Linked DNA regions of Homo sapiens: all the other regions are linked to region 1. The links are contacts of gene promoters, found by promoter capture Hi-C in blood cells and fetal thymus (Javierre and others, 2016). All regions are on one chromosome and are shown on one strand. Each heading gives the region's core, a stretch centred on a gene start or on the middle of the fragment in contact. The rest is flanking DNA. Distances are from core to core; before and after follow the strand shown.

Region 1 (2,722 bases), core at 10-2,509:
AGGCCGAGGCAGGTGGATCGCCTGAGGTCAGGAGTTCGAGACCAGCTTGGCCAACTTAGTGAAACCCCGTCTCTACTAAAAATACAAAAATTAGCTGGGCGTGGTGGTGGGCGCCTGTAATCCCAGCTACTCGGGAGGCTGAGACACAAGAATCACTTGAACCCGGGCGACGGAGGTTGCAGTGGGCCGAGATAGCGCCATTGCACTCCAGCCTGGGCAACAAGAGCAAAACTCTGTCAAAGAAAAAAAAAAAGTAAAAGAAAATAAAATCAGATGCAGAGGCCAGGCAGGAGGAGCTCAGGCCGCACTGCTGTCTTTGCTAGCACAGATTCTTTTTGCTGAACTCTGTACTACTCCTTGTCAGTCCCTAATGTTAATTTAGGTTAAAAGAAATGTAATGCTCGCATCAGTAAAAGCAAGGTCAGACTTTCACCTGAACAGTTTTATTTTTGTTTTGTTCCGTTTTTACTCCGAGGTCAGAATGTCATCAGGCACAATAAAGATAGCTTCTTATCTTCATGGGATTGTGCCCAGAAAGACCAAGCACAGTCTAAACATTACGCGATAAGAAAAAACAAAAAATAGATCAAGTGACCTTGGACAAGTCATCTTACCTCTCGATGGTTTTGTTTTATGAAAGAAGGTGTGTGTGTGTGTGTGTCGATGGGTGTGTGTGTGTGTGTGTCGATGGGTCTGTGTGTGTGTGTGTGTGTGTCGATGGGTGTGTGTGTGTGTGTGTGTGCGTGCGGGGGTTGAGAAGGTTGCTGTTAAGGTTCCCTAGGGCTACCTGCAGCTTTAATATGCGTAGTTAGAATGTCAGGCAGGTTGTGGAGAGTGGGGGGCTGGAGACCCCCGACTTCTCTGAGTGCCAAGCCACACATCAGACACCTTGGAAATAACCCTTCCACGAAGTCCCTACACAGATCCCACCAGGCTGGGCACGGAAGAACAGAAACTGCGAAAAGAAAGGGACTGGATGAGTCCTGGGGAATCACAGCGCCTCCACTTGCACAGGACAAGTGACAGGCAGGTAAATAGGTAGCAGACAGGCAGAGACTCCGAGTCCCCCAGGTGCACCCCTCTCCTGGAAGAGCCCCCGAAAGTACAGGCCCAATCTCCCACCCCACCAAGCCCTCCCCATCGCCTTCCCCGACACCTAAAAGCCCCGGTCCTGCGTAATATTGCGGATCCCTCCCAGCCTCCCGTCCGCTCCTCCTCCCGCGGGGCTCCGCTCAGGGCCGGTCCCCCGCCCCCACGCCGCAGCCCGGGCCAGCGGGGCCCGCCGCGGTGGCGTTCGCGGATGCTGCCGCATTGGCCGCTGCGGCACGGACGGCGCAGCCTCGGGCGCGGCCCGGCACAGGCGCCGGCGGTCCCCGCCAGCTAGCAGCCCGGCGAGGCGCTGGCCCACCCATGGTCCTCGGGCGGCGGCCCCTGCGCCCAGCCCTGCGCGTAGCCTCCGTCTCTCGCCCGGGGCCGCCGAGCCCCCGACACGGGCGAGATGCTGAACGGCGCAGGCCTGGACAAAGCTCTTAAGATGTCCCTGCCGCGGAGGTCGAGGATCCGCTCGTCCGTGGGTGAGCTGGGAGGGGCGCGGCGAGGGAGGGTGGGCCCGGGGCGGGGGCGGCGCGGGGCGCGCCTGCGGTTATGCGACACTGCCCCGCCCGCGCCCCGCTCCCCTCCCTGGGCTCCCTGGGCTCTCTGGGCTGCAGGATCCGCCGACGCGGCGCGCTGGCCGCACGGGGGCTGGGCGTCGCTGCACCTGCGGGGCCAAAAGGCTCCAGGCCGGGGCGAGGTGAGCGGCGGGCGTCAGAGACCCCCGGCTCGTCCCTGTACAGATGTGTGTGTGTGTGTGCGGCCTCCCTGTGCGCGTGCCCGTGCGCCCCTACGCGCGGATGCGGCTCAGGGATGCGACCTAGGCGGCAGTCACCGCGATGGTGGGCACGGTTTGGCGGCGCAGAGAAGATGCAGCCTTCCCTGCCGGCGGCCGGCACCGCTGTGCTGCAGAGCTCAAAAGCAGAGGGGGAAAAAGGCATCCGAAGGGTCCCTCGAGTGATTCTCACCACTTGGAGCCCCGGGTCCTCGCGCGCTCACAGCGGCGACGTACTGGCTCATAACCATCCGTGCATACAACCATCTGGAGACGAACACACACACGCACACGCGCGCGCACACACACACACAGGTACACACACACGTACACACGCACGCGTACACATACCCTGCCTGCAGGCGCCTGGGTGTTGGAACTCGAAACCTAAAGCCAAACACGCATGTACCATACCCGACCACTCACACTGTTAGAGGCCCGCGTTCTATGATTATAGAACACATTTAGAAACTATGATGTCGTGGAGCTGGATGTTATGTGGCTATGACACTTGATAGGGTTACCTAGACCATTAGTTAATGCAGACGTAAAGAGGAGCCCCAAAAATGATTTCTTACCGTTTCAGGACTGCGGCAAGTTTGCAGGTAGATCTTTGACATGAGGAAGGTAGAGGGTGTACAGTTTGGAGCTGGGGTCACTTGTCTTCGTGCTTTTTTATTTGTTTTGAGAAAATAGGCACATAAAAATAAGCGACTTTTGTATTTCTGTAGTTGAGTAACGTGAGAGGGAAGCAAGCTTATCAGGTAATTTAAGCCAATGTTTGTTAAACTTGGGTAAAGTCAGGACACTTTCACATTCATTTTGAGGAGAATCCCAGCCTGAAGGGGTCACGGG
Region 2 (2,700 bases), core at 53-2,552, 290 kb before region 1:
GTAAGCCACCACGCCTGGCCCAAACATTTAAGTTTTAACATTAAGTTAAAATCTCTCCCAAACTATGTCAGGAAAAAGGAGTTGGAATACTGCTCTATTCATATTATTAGGCCTGCATTACCCTCATTTAATACCTGACAAAGACATAACAAGAAAACCATAGACCGATATACCTCATGGACATACATGCAAAAATGTTTAAGAAAATATTAGGAAATCTAGTAATATAATAAAAGAATCATGTATCATGATCAAATGGTGTGTATGTAAGAAATGCAATATTGCTTTAATGTATGAAAACCAATTAACGTAATTCACCATATGAATAGAATAGAGGAGAAAAAACGTGATCGTCTCGACAGATGCAGAATAAACTATGTGACAAACTTCAACACCTATTCATGATAAAACTTTGAGCAAGTTCAGAATAGAATGAAATTTCTGCAACCTGAAAAAAGACATCTATAAAAAACTCAGAGCTAACATCGTACTAAATTGTGAAAAACCAAGTGCTTTCAACCTTAGAACAGAAACAAGACAAAGATATTCACTCTTATAAAGATAGTTCAATAAGACAAAAAAAAAGGCATAGAGTTTGTAAAAGAAGAAATAAAACTGTCTTTATTTGCAGTCAATATAAGTACATATATAAAACAATCCTAAGGGAATATACAAAGTCTACTGAAACTAATAAGTGATCAAAGCAAGATCACAGGATAAAAGATCAATATGCAATCATCACTTTTATTTCTATATATAAACAGCAAGCAATTAAAAAGGACATTTAAAATACAAATATGTTCACAATAACATAAAAAATTATGAATAAATTTAGCAAAAGGTGTGGAAGATCTATACCCTGATAAATAATGCTGTTAAAATAAATTTTAAAAAGCCTAAATAAATGGACAGATAGGTAATGTTCATGAATTGGAAGACTCAATATTGTTACTGTATCAATAGATTCAATGTAATTTTAATCGGAATTACAGCAAGCATTTTCTTTTAGAAATTGACAAGTGTATTATAAAATTGATATAAAGATGAGATGGATCTAAAGTAGCTGAACAATTTTAAAAAGAAGAGAAAAGTCGGCCAGGCACAGTGGCTCACTCCTATAATCCCAGCACTTTGGGAGGCTGAAGCGGGCGGATCATGAGGTCAGGAGTTCGAGACCAGCCTGGCCAATATGGTGAACCCCCGTCTCTACTAATAATACAAAAAAAATAGCTGGGTGTAGTAGCGCACACCTGTAGTCCCAGCTACTTGGGAGGCTGAGGTGGGAGAATCGCTTGAACCAGGAAGGTGGAGATTGCAGTGAGCTGAGTTCGCACCACTGCACTCCAACCTGGGTGACACAGCGAGACTCCGTCTCAAAAAAAAAAAAAATAAAAATAAATAAATAAATAAATAAAAGAAGAGAAAAGTCAAAGGACTTAAACTACCTGATATGAAGACTGACTATAACACTGCAGTAACCAAGAGAGTGTGGTATGGGGATAAGGAAAGGCACACCAACCGGTGGGACAGAGTCCAGTCCAGAAGTAGACTGACATATGTATAGTCAACTGATCTTTATCAAAGTGCCAAACTAATTAAGTGATGAAAGGATGATGTTTTCAATAAACAGCACTAGAATAGTTTCCATATTGTTGGGGGAAAGGGTCCGGACCCTTTTCTTTTATTGTATACCAAAATTAACTCAAAATGGATCATAGACCTACATTTAAGAGCTAAAATCTTAAAACTTCAAGCAGGAGAAAAATAGAAGGATTGACTTGTGATATTAGGTTAGACAAAAGAAAAATATTAGCAAATTAAATTTCATTAAAATGAAAAATATTTGTTCTTCAAAGGACCCTCTTCAGAAAACAAAATTGGAAAAAAAAAATTTGTAAAACACGTATCCAACAAAGGCCTTGTGTCCTGCATATAAAAAAAACTTACTAATAAGAAGACAAACAATTCAATCAAAAAATGGACAAAAGATTTAAACAGACACTTCACAAAAGAATATATGTAAATAGCCAATAAGTCATTTAAAAGATGCTCAACATCACTGTCAAACAAACCAAAGAAATGCAAATTAAAACAACAAGGAGAGACCAGTATACAAGGAGAGACACTGGGATGGCAGAAATTTGAAAAGCCTGACAACACCAAGCATTGATTGTTATCTACATGAAGGTAGAATAATTGGAACACTCATAATTGCCAGTGGTTAGTTACACTGTTTTCCATATCCATTTTGAAAAAGAAGTTGCAAGTTTCTTATCACATGAAACACACACCACATGTGACTCAGCAATTCCACTCCTAGTTATATAACCAAGAATACATACATACATATATATCTATTTCCACGCAAAGACATTGGGGGCCAAAGTTCATAGCAACATTATTCTTCATGGCTCCAAGCTGGAAATAACCCAAATATTTATAAACTAGTGAAAAGATGAACCAGTTGTTGTGTATCCGGACAACGGAATACTGCTCAGCAAAAAGACGGAATGAACTGTTGATACCTGCAACATGGATGAAACTAAAATATCACACAAAGTGAAAGAAGCCAGACACGGAAGACAACATATTATTCCATTTACACAAAATTCTGGAAAAGGCAAATTATCGTGAAAAAAAGATCAGTTGTCTTAGGCCTGAGTTGGAGAGAAAAGATTGGCTATAGGGGAGCACAGAGGA
Region 3 (2,791 bases), core at 66-2,565, 280 kb before region 1:
CAGCCTGGGTGACAGAACGAGACTCTATCTAAACAAACAAACAAACAAAAAACCCTAAAATAAATTATTTGTAACATGAACAGAATGAACAGATCCTCCCCCAAACTGATATTTTTTGTGGGACTGGACCTTTCTTAAAGGATTTTCTTAAATAGAATTATTTCAGATCATCACTTACTTAGATGTGTAGCTATATTAGGTCACAAGATTGTGTACTTATAATCATAAAACGTATACTTAATAATGAATCCCAACCTGACCTCAAAAGACTATATCATATAATACTATATTAACATTACATATTTATTGGTCGGGCACGGTGGCTTACGCCTGTAATCCCAGCACTTTGGGAGGCCGAGGTGGGTGGATCACGAGGTCAGGAGTTCAAGATCAGCCTGGCCAAGATGGTGAAACCCCGTCTCTACTAAAAATACAAAAAATTAGCCAGGCTTGGTGGTGGGTGCCTGTAATCCCAGCTACTTTAGAAGCTGAGGCAGGAGAATCGCTTGAACCTGGGAGGTGGAGGTTGCAGTGAGCCGAGATCGCACCACTGCACTCCAGCCTGGGTGACAGAGCAAAACTCCGTCTCAAAAATAAATAAGTAAAATAAAAATAAATAAATGAAAAATAAAATTACATATTTATTATGTTTTATATTGTTATATAATATAAAAAGTCGGTTTTTCGGGGTTTTTTGTTTGTTTGTTTGTTTGTTTGAGATAGTCTCGCTCTGTCACCCAGACTAGAGGGCAGTGGCGCGATCTCTGCTCACTGCAACCTCCACCTCCCGGGTTCAAGCGATTCTCGTGCCTAGGCCTCCCGAGTAGCTGGGATTACAGGTGAGCACATCAAGCCCAGCTAATTTTTTGTAATTTTAGTAGAGACGAGGTAAAAAGTAGAAAATATTTTATAAAAATATATTTGTGTAAAGTAGAACATATATAAAAACATACTAAAGGAGAAAGGAGAAAAAAATTCTTTCATTTATTTTTTTCCCAGGCATTTTAAATTTGGATTATAAAAATCATTTTAGAAAAATCATTAATGCTCTTTTACAAAATAACCCGGTGAAGCAGCTGAGCCCGAGCCGCCCGCCAGCGGCCCCGCAGCAGCTCCAAGAAGGAACTAAGAGACCAAGGCCTTCCTGCTGCCCGGACCCGACACCGCTACCCTGGCTCCCCGCCGGCAGCCGGCAGCCAGCGGCAGCGGATCGACCCCGTTCTGCGGCCGTTGAGTAGTTTTCGATTTCGGCTGATTTTTGTCCCTCTGCGCTTGCCCCCGCTCCCCTCCCTCCGGCTACGCCCCCGGCCCCGGCACGCGCTCTACTCCTGTAACGGAAAGGTCGCGGCTTGTGTGCCTGCGGGCAGCCGTGCCGAGAATGAACCCCAGCACCCCCAGCTACCCAACGGCCTCGCTCTACGTGGGGGACCTCCACCCCGACGTGACTGAGGCGATGCTCTACGAGAAGTTCAGCCCGGCAGGGCCCATCCTCTCCATCCGGATCTGCAGGGACTTGATCACCAGCGGCTCCTCCAACTACGCGTATGTGAACTTCCAGCATACGAAGGACGCGGAGCATGCTCTGGACACCATGAATTTTGATGTTATAAAGGGCAAGCCAGTACGCATCATGTGGTCTCAGCGTGATCCATCACTTCGAAAAAGTGGAGTGGGCAACATATTCGTTAAAAATCTGGATAAGTCCATTAATAATAAAGCACTGTATGATACAGTTTCTGCTTTTGGTAACATCCTTTCGTGTAACGTGGTTTGTGATGAAAATGGTTCCAAGGGTTATGGATTTGTACACTTTGAGACACACGAAGCAGCTGAAAGAGCTATTAAAAAAATGAACGGAATGCTCCTAAATGGTCGCAAAGTATTTGTTGGACAATTTAAGTCTCGTAAAGAACGAGAAGCTGAACTTGGAGCTAGGGCAAAAGAGTTCCCCAATGTTTACATCAAGAATTTTGGAGAAGACATGGATGATGAGCGCCTTAAGGATCTCTTTGGCAAGTTCGGGCCCGCCTTAAGTGTGAAAGTAATGACCGATGAAAGTGGAAAATCCAAAGGATTTGGATTTGTAAGCTTTGAAAGGCATGAAGATGCACAGAAAGCTGTAGATGAGATGAATGGAAAGGAGCTCAATGGAAAACAAATTTACGTTGGTCGAGCTCAGAAAAAAGTGGAACGGCAGACGGAACTTAAGCGCACATTTGAACAGATGAAGCAAGATAGGATCACCAGATACCAGGTTGTTAATCTTTATGTGAAAAATCTTGATGATGGTATTGATGATGAACGTCTCCGGAAAGCGTTTTCTCCATTTGGTACAATCACTAGTGCAAAGGTTATGATGGAAGGTGGTCGCAGCAAAGGGTTTGGTTTTGTATGTTTCTCCTCCCCAGAAGAAGCCACTAAAGCAGTTACAGAAATGAACGGTAGAATTGTGGCCACAAAGCCATTGTATGTAGCTTTAGCTCAGCGCAAAGAAGAGCGCCAGGCTTACCTCACTAACGAGTATATGCAGAGAATGGCAAGTGTACGAGCTGTGCCCAACCAGCGAGCACCTCCTTCAGGTTACTTCATGACAGCTGTCCCACAGACTCAGAACCATGCTGCATACTATCCTCCTAGCCAAATTGCTCGACTAAGACCAAGTCCTCGCTGGACTGCTCAGGGTGCCAGACCTCATCCATTCCAAAATAAGCCCAGTGCTATCCGCCCAGGTGCTCCTAGAGTACCATTTAGTACTATGAGACCAGCTTCTTCACAGGTTCCACGAGTCATG
Region 4 (2,744 bases), core at 1-2,500, 380 kb before region 1:
GTTTCGTTTTTTTAATTTAGCTTTCTGTCTCTGTGCTTGTGCCTTCAACACTTTCACAACGATTTTCTGCTCCTCGATAAGGAAAGCACGCTTGATCCCGTCACGAACACATTTAGTACGCATGGAACCACTACAGGCCCTGCGGACATGTTTCTTTGTTTTGGACAATCTCCTAAGAACTTTAGGTCTTACAGCACGAACCCCTCAAAGTCTGCCTGGGCACACGCTACATGCAGATTTTGGTGCTTTCCCAACCTTCTTGGTATAAAAGTACACAACTCCGTTATCAGGGGTTCGGAGCAGCCTAGTTTTGTTAGAGGCTGTATTGTAGGAAAGCCTACGATAGTAGGTCAAACGCTGGACCATTCTGAGTGCCTGCAGACAACGTTCCCGGAAGCGCTCCCTTGCTCGTTTTTTTTTTTTTTTTTGGCGGGGGATGGAGTCTCTCTCTGTCGCCCAGGCTGGAGTGCAGTGGCGCAGTCTCGGCTCGCTGCAACCTCCGCCTCCCGGGTTCACGCCATTCTCCCGTCTCAGCTTCTGAGTAGCTGGGACTACAGGCGCCGGCCACCACGCCCGGCTAATTTTATTTTTGTATTTTTAGAACAGACGGGTTTTCACCGTGTTAGCCGTGTTAGCCAGGATGGTCTCGATCTCCTGACCTCACGATCCCTGGCCTCGGCCTGGCAAAGTGCTGGGATTACAGGCGTGAGCCACCGCGCCCCACCCTTGCTCCTTTCAACCTGGCGTTTTCCCCCCGCTCATTTTCCAGCCATTTAGGAATCCCGCCTCCATCCGCTGAGCCCTCAAGGCAGTGAGAGAGACTACTTTCCACATCAGCCGCAGCGGAAAACCTGAAAACGCTCATCCCTTACAGATGGACACTCTTCCAGTTTCTGCCTGTTCTTATCCACTTTCCGATAGTTCTTTAAGAAACTTAAAATAGTTTCTTAACTGTTTGAAGAACTATTTAAAGAAGAACTATTTATTAAATAGTTTCTTAACTATTTGAAGAACTATTTAACTGAAGAACTATTTGCCTTCAAATAGTTCTTTAAGAAAACTTTTTTTTTGTCCAGATTTTGTACATCAACACACACACACACACACGCGCACAGACACATATAATTAGGAATGCATCTTGTTTATGTCTCATTCTATAATATGTTACTATCACTCAAAATAGTACAACTCGACCCTAATACGACAACTTTTAATTCTGGTTGGATTCACCAGATTCAATTGTTTATTTATCTGATTTCATTATTTCATGATCTCTCCTTAACATTTCATGAAAAGGTCTTTTGGGGACTTAATGTAAGTGACAACAGAATTCAGTGTGATGAAACCAACCATATATGAAATGAACCAGATGCCATATGCTTAAACCTGTGAATATGTCAACCAGCAATTCACTGGCGCATAAATGTGCAAATGAGGAAACGTTGTTCAAACGCTTCAGCTTGTATTTTACAAAACAGTGTTTAAATATTTGACATAGTTTAATAATATTTTAGAAAAATGGCCTACCTAGTCTGGATGATGTATGCGTTTGCTGGGGTTACTATAAGGAAGTTACACACACTGAGGGCATAAACAGCAGAAGGTTATTGCTGCGTAGTCCTGGAGCCCGGAAGTCCAGGATCAAAGTGACAGGTTTGGATTCTCCTGCAGCCTCTCTCCTTGGCTTGCAGACTTCCCTCTCTACATGTCTGTATCCTAATTGCCTCTTTTTTTAATGTTTATTTTAAGTTCCTGGGTACAAATGCAGGTTTGTCACATAGGTAAACTTGTATCATGGGGGTTTGTTGTACAGATTATTTCATCATCCAGGTATATTAAGCCTAGTGCCCATTCATTATTTTTCCTGATCCTCTCCCTCCTCCTACCCTCCACTCTCTGATAGGCCCCAGTGTGCGTTATTCCCCTCTATGTATCCATGTGTTCTCATCATTTAGCTCCCACTTACAAGTGAGAATATCTGGTATCTGGTTTTCTGTTACGGTGTTAGTTAGCTTAGGATAATGGCCTCCAGCTCCATCCATGTTCCTGCAAAGGACATGATCTTGTTCTTGATTTCTTTCCCTTAATAATACATATTTAATGTTATTCAATGCCTCCTTTTCATGGCATTATAGCTTATTTCCTTTTAGTGCTGATTAATATTCCATCATCTGAATATACCGCAGTTTATTCACCTTCCAAGTTTTGGCAATTATGAATGAAGCTGCTCCAAACATCTGTGTGCAGATGGACTTTTGTATGGACATAAGTTTCCAATTCTTTGGGTAAATACCAAGTACCATAATTGGTGGATTGTATGGTATGAATATATTCAGTTGTATAAGAAGCCACCAGACTGTCTTTGAAAGTGCTTGTTCCATATTGCATACCCACCAGAAATGAGAGTTCCTGTTGCTGTTCCTGTTGGTGTTCATAGTGGAGACAGTGGATTTTAGCCATCTTAATAGATATATAATAGGATCTCATTGTTGCTTTAATTTTCTATTTCCTTTTGTTTTGTTTTGTTTTGAGATAGAGTCTCACTCTGTTGCCTGGGCTGGAGTGCAGTGGTGCAATCTACAACCTCCGCCTCCTGGATTCAAGTGATTCTCATGTCTCAGCCTCCGCAGTAGCTGGGATTACAGGCGTGTGCCACCAGGCCCGGCTAATTTTTGTATTTTTAGTAGAGACGGGGTTTCACCATGTTGGTCATGCTGGTCTCAAACTCCTGACCTCAAGTGATC

Evidence for each region. The method cuts DNA at HindIII sites, captures the fragments that hold promoters and counts their contacts. A CHiCAGO score of 5 or more calls a contact.
Region 2: a fragment that was not itself captured here is called in contact with the fragment with the promoter of ATP8A2 in region 1 in 1 of 17 cell types (M2 macrophages); the score reaches 5.5 in M2 macrophages.
Region 3: the fragment with the promoter of PABPC3 here is called in contact with the fragment with the promoter of ATP8A2 in region 1 in 11 of 17 cell types (M2 macrophages, M0 macrophages, naive B cells and 8 more); the score reaches 26.4 in M2 macrophages.
Region 4: a contact is called between a fragment that was not itself captured here and the fragment with the promoter of ATP8A2 in region 1, in 1 of 17 cell types (neutrophils). The highest score is 6.4, in neutrophils.

The regions. Positions count from the first base shown.
Region 1 is chr13:25,370,715-25,373,436 of GRCh38, forward strand. ATP8A2 (ATPase phospholipid transporting 8A2) reads left to right here and starts at 1,260. Exons shown (of 37, transcript NM_016529.6): 1 at 1,260-1,574. The coding sequence starts at 1,499. The HindIII fragment of the contact is 3,193 bases long and covers 1-2,621 here.
Region 2 is chr13:25,078,689-25,081,388 of GRCh38, forward strand. No RefSeq gene overlaps it. Among named protein-coding and RNA genes, the nearest start is that of PABPC3, 16 kb to the right of the region's middle. The HindIII fragment of the contact is 8,909 bases long and covers 1-2,700 here.
Region 3 is chr13:25,094,821-25,097,611 of GRCh38, forward strand. It overlaps PABPC3 (poly(A) binding protein cytoplasmic 3), which reads left to right and starts at 1,316. Exons shown (of 1, transcript NM_030979.3): 1 at 1,316-2,791. The coding sequence starts at 1,379. LOC124900613 (a long non-coding RNA gene) reads left to right here and starts at 800. Exons shown (of 3, transcript XR_941762.3): 1 at 800-839. RefSeq lists a silencer at 1,231-1,525. The HindIII fragment of the contact is 7,788 bases long and covers 1-2,086 here.
Region 4 is chr13:24,988,560-24,991,303 of GRCh38, forward strand. It overlaps the pseudogene RPL34P27. Among named protein-coding and RNA genes, the nearest start is that of CPAP, 67 kb to the left of the region's middle. The HindIII fragment of the contact is 9,045 bases long and covers 1-2,744 here.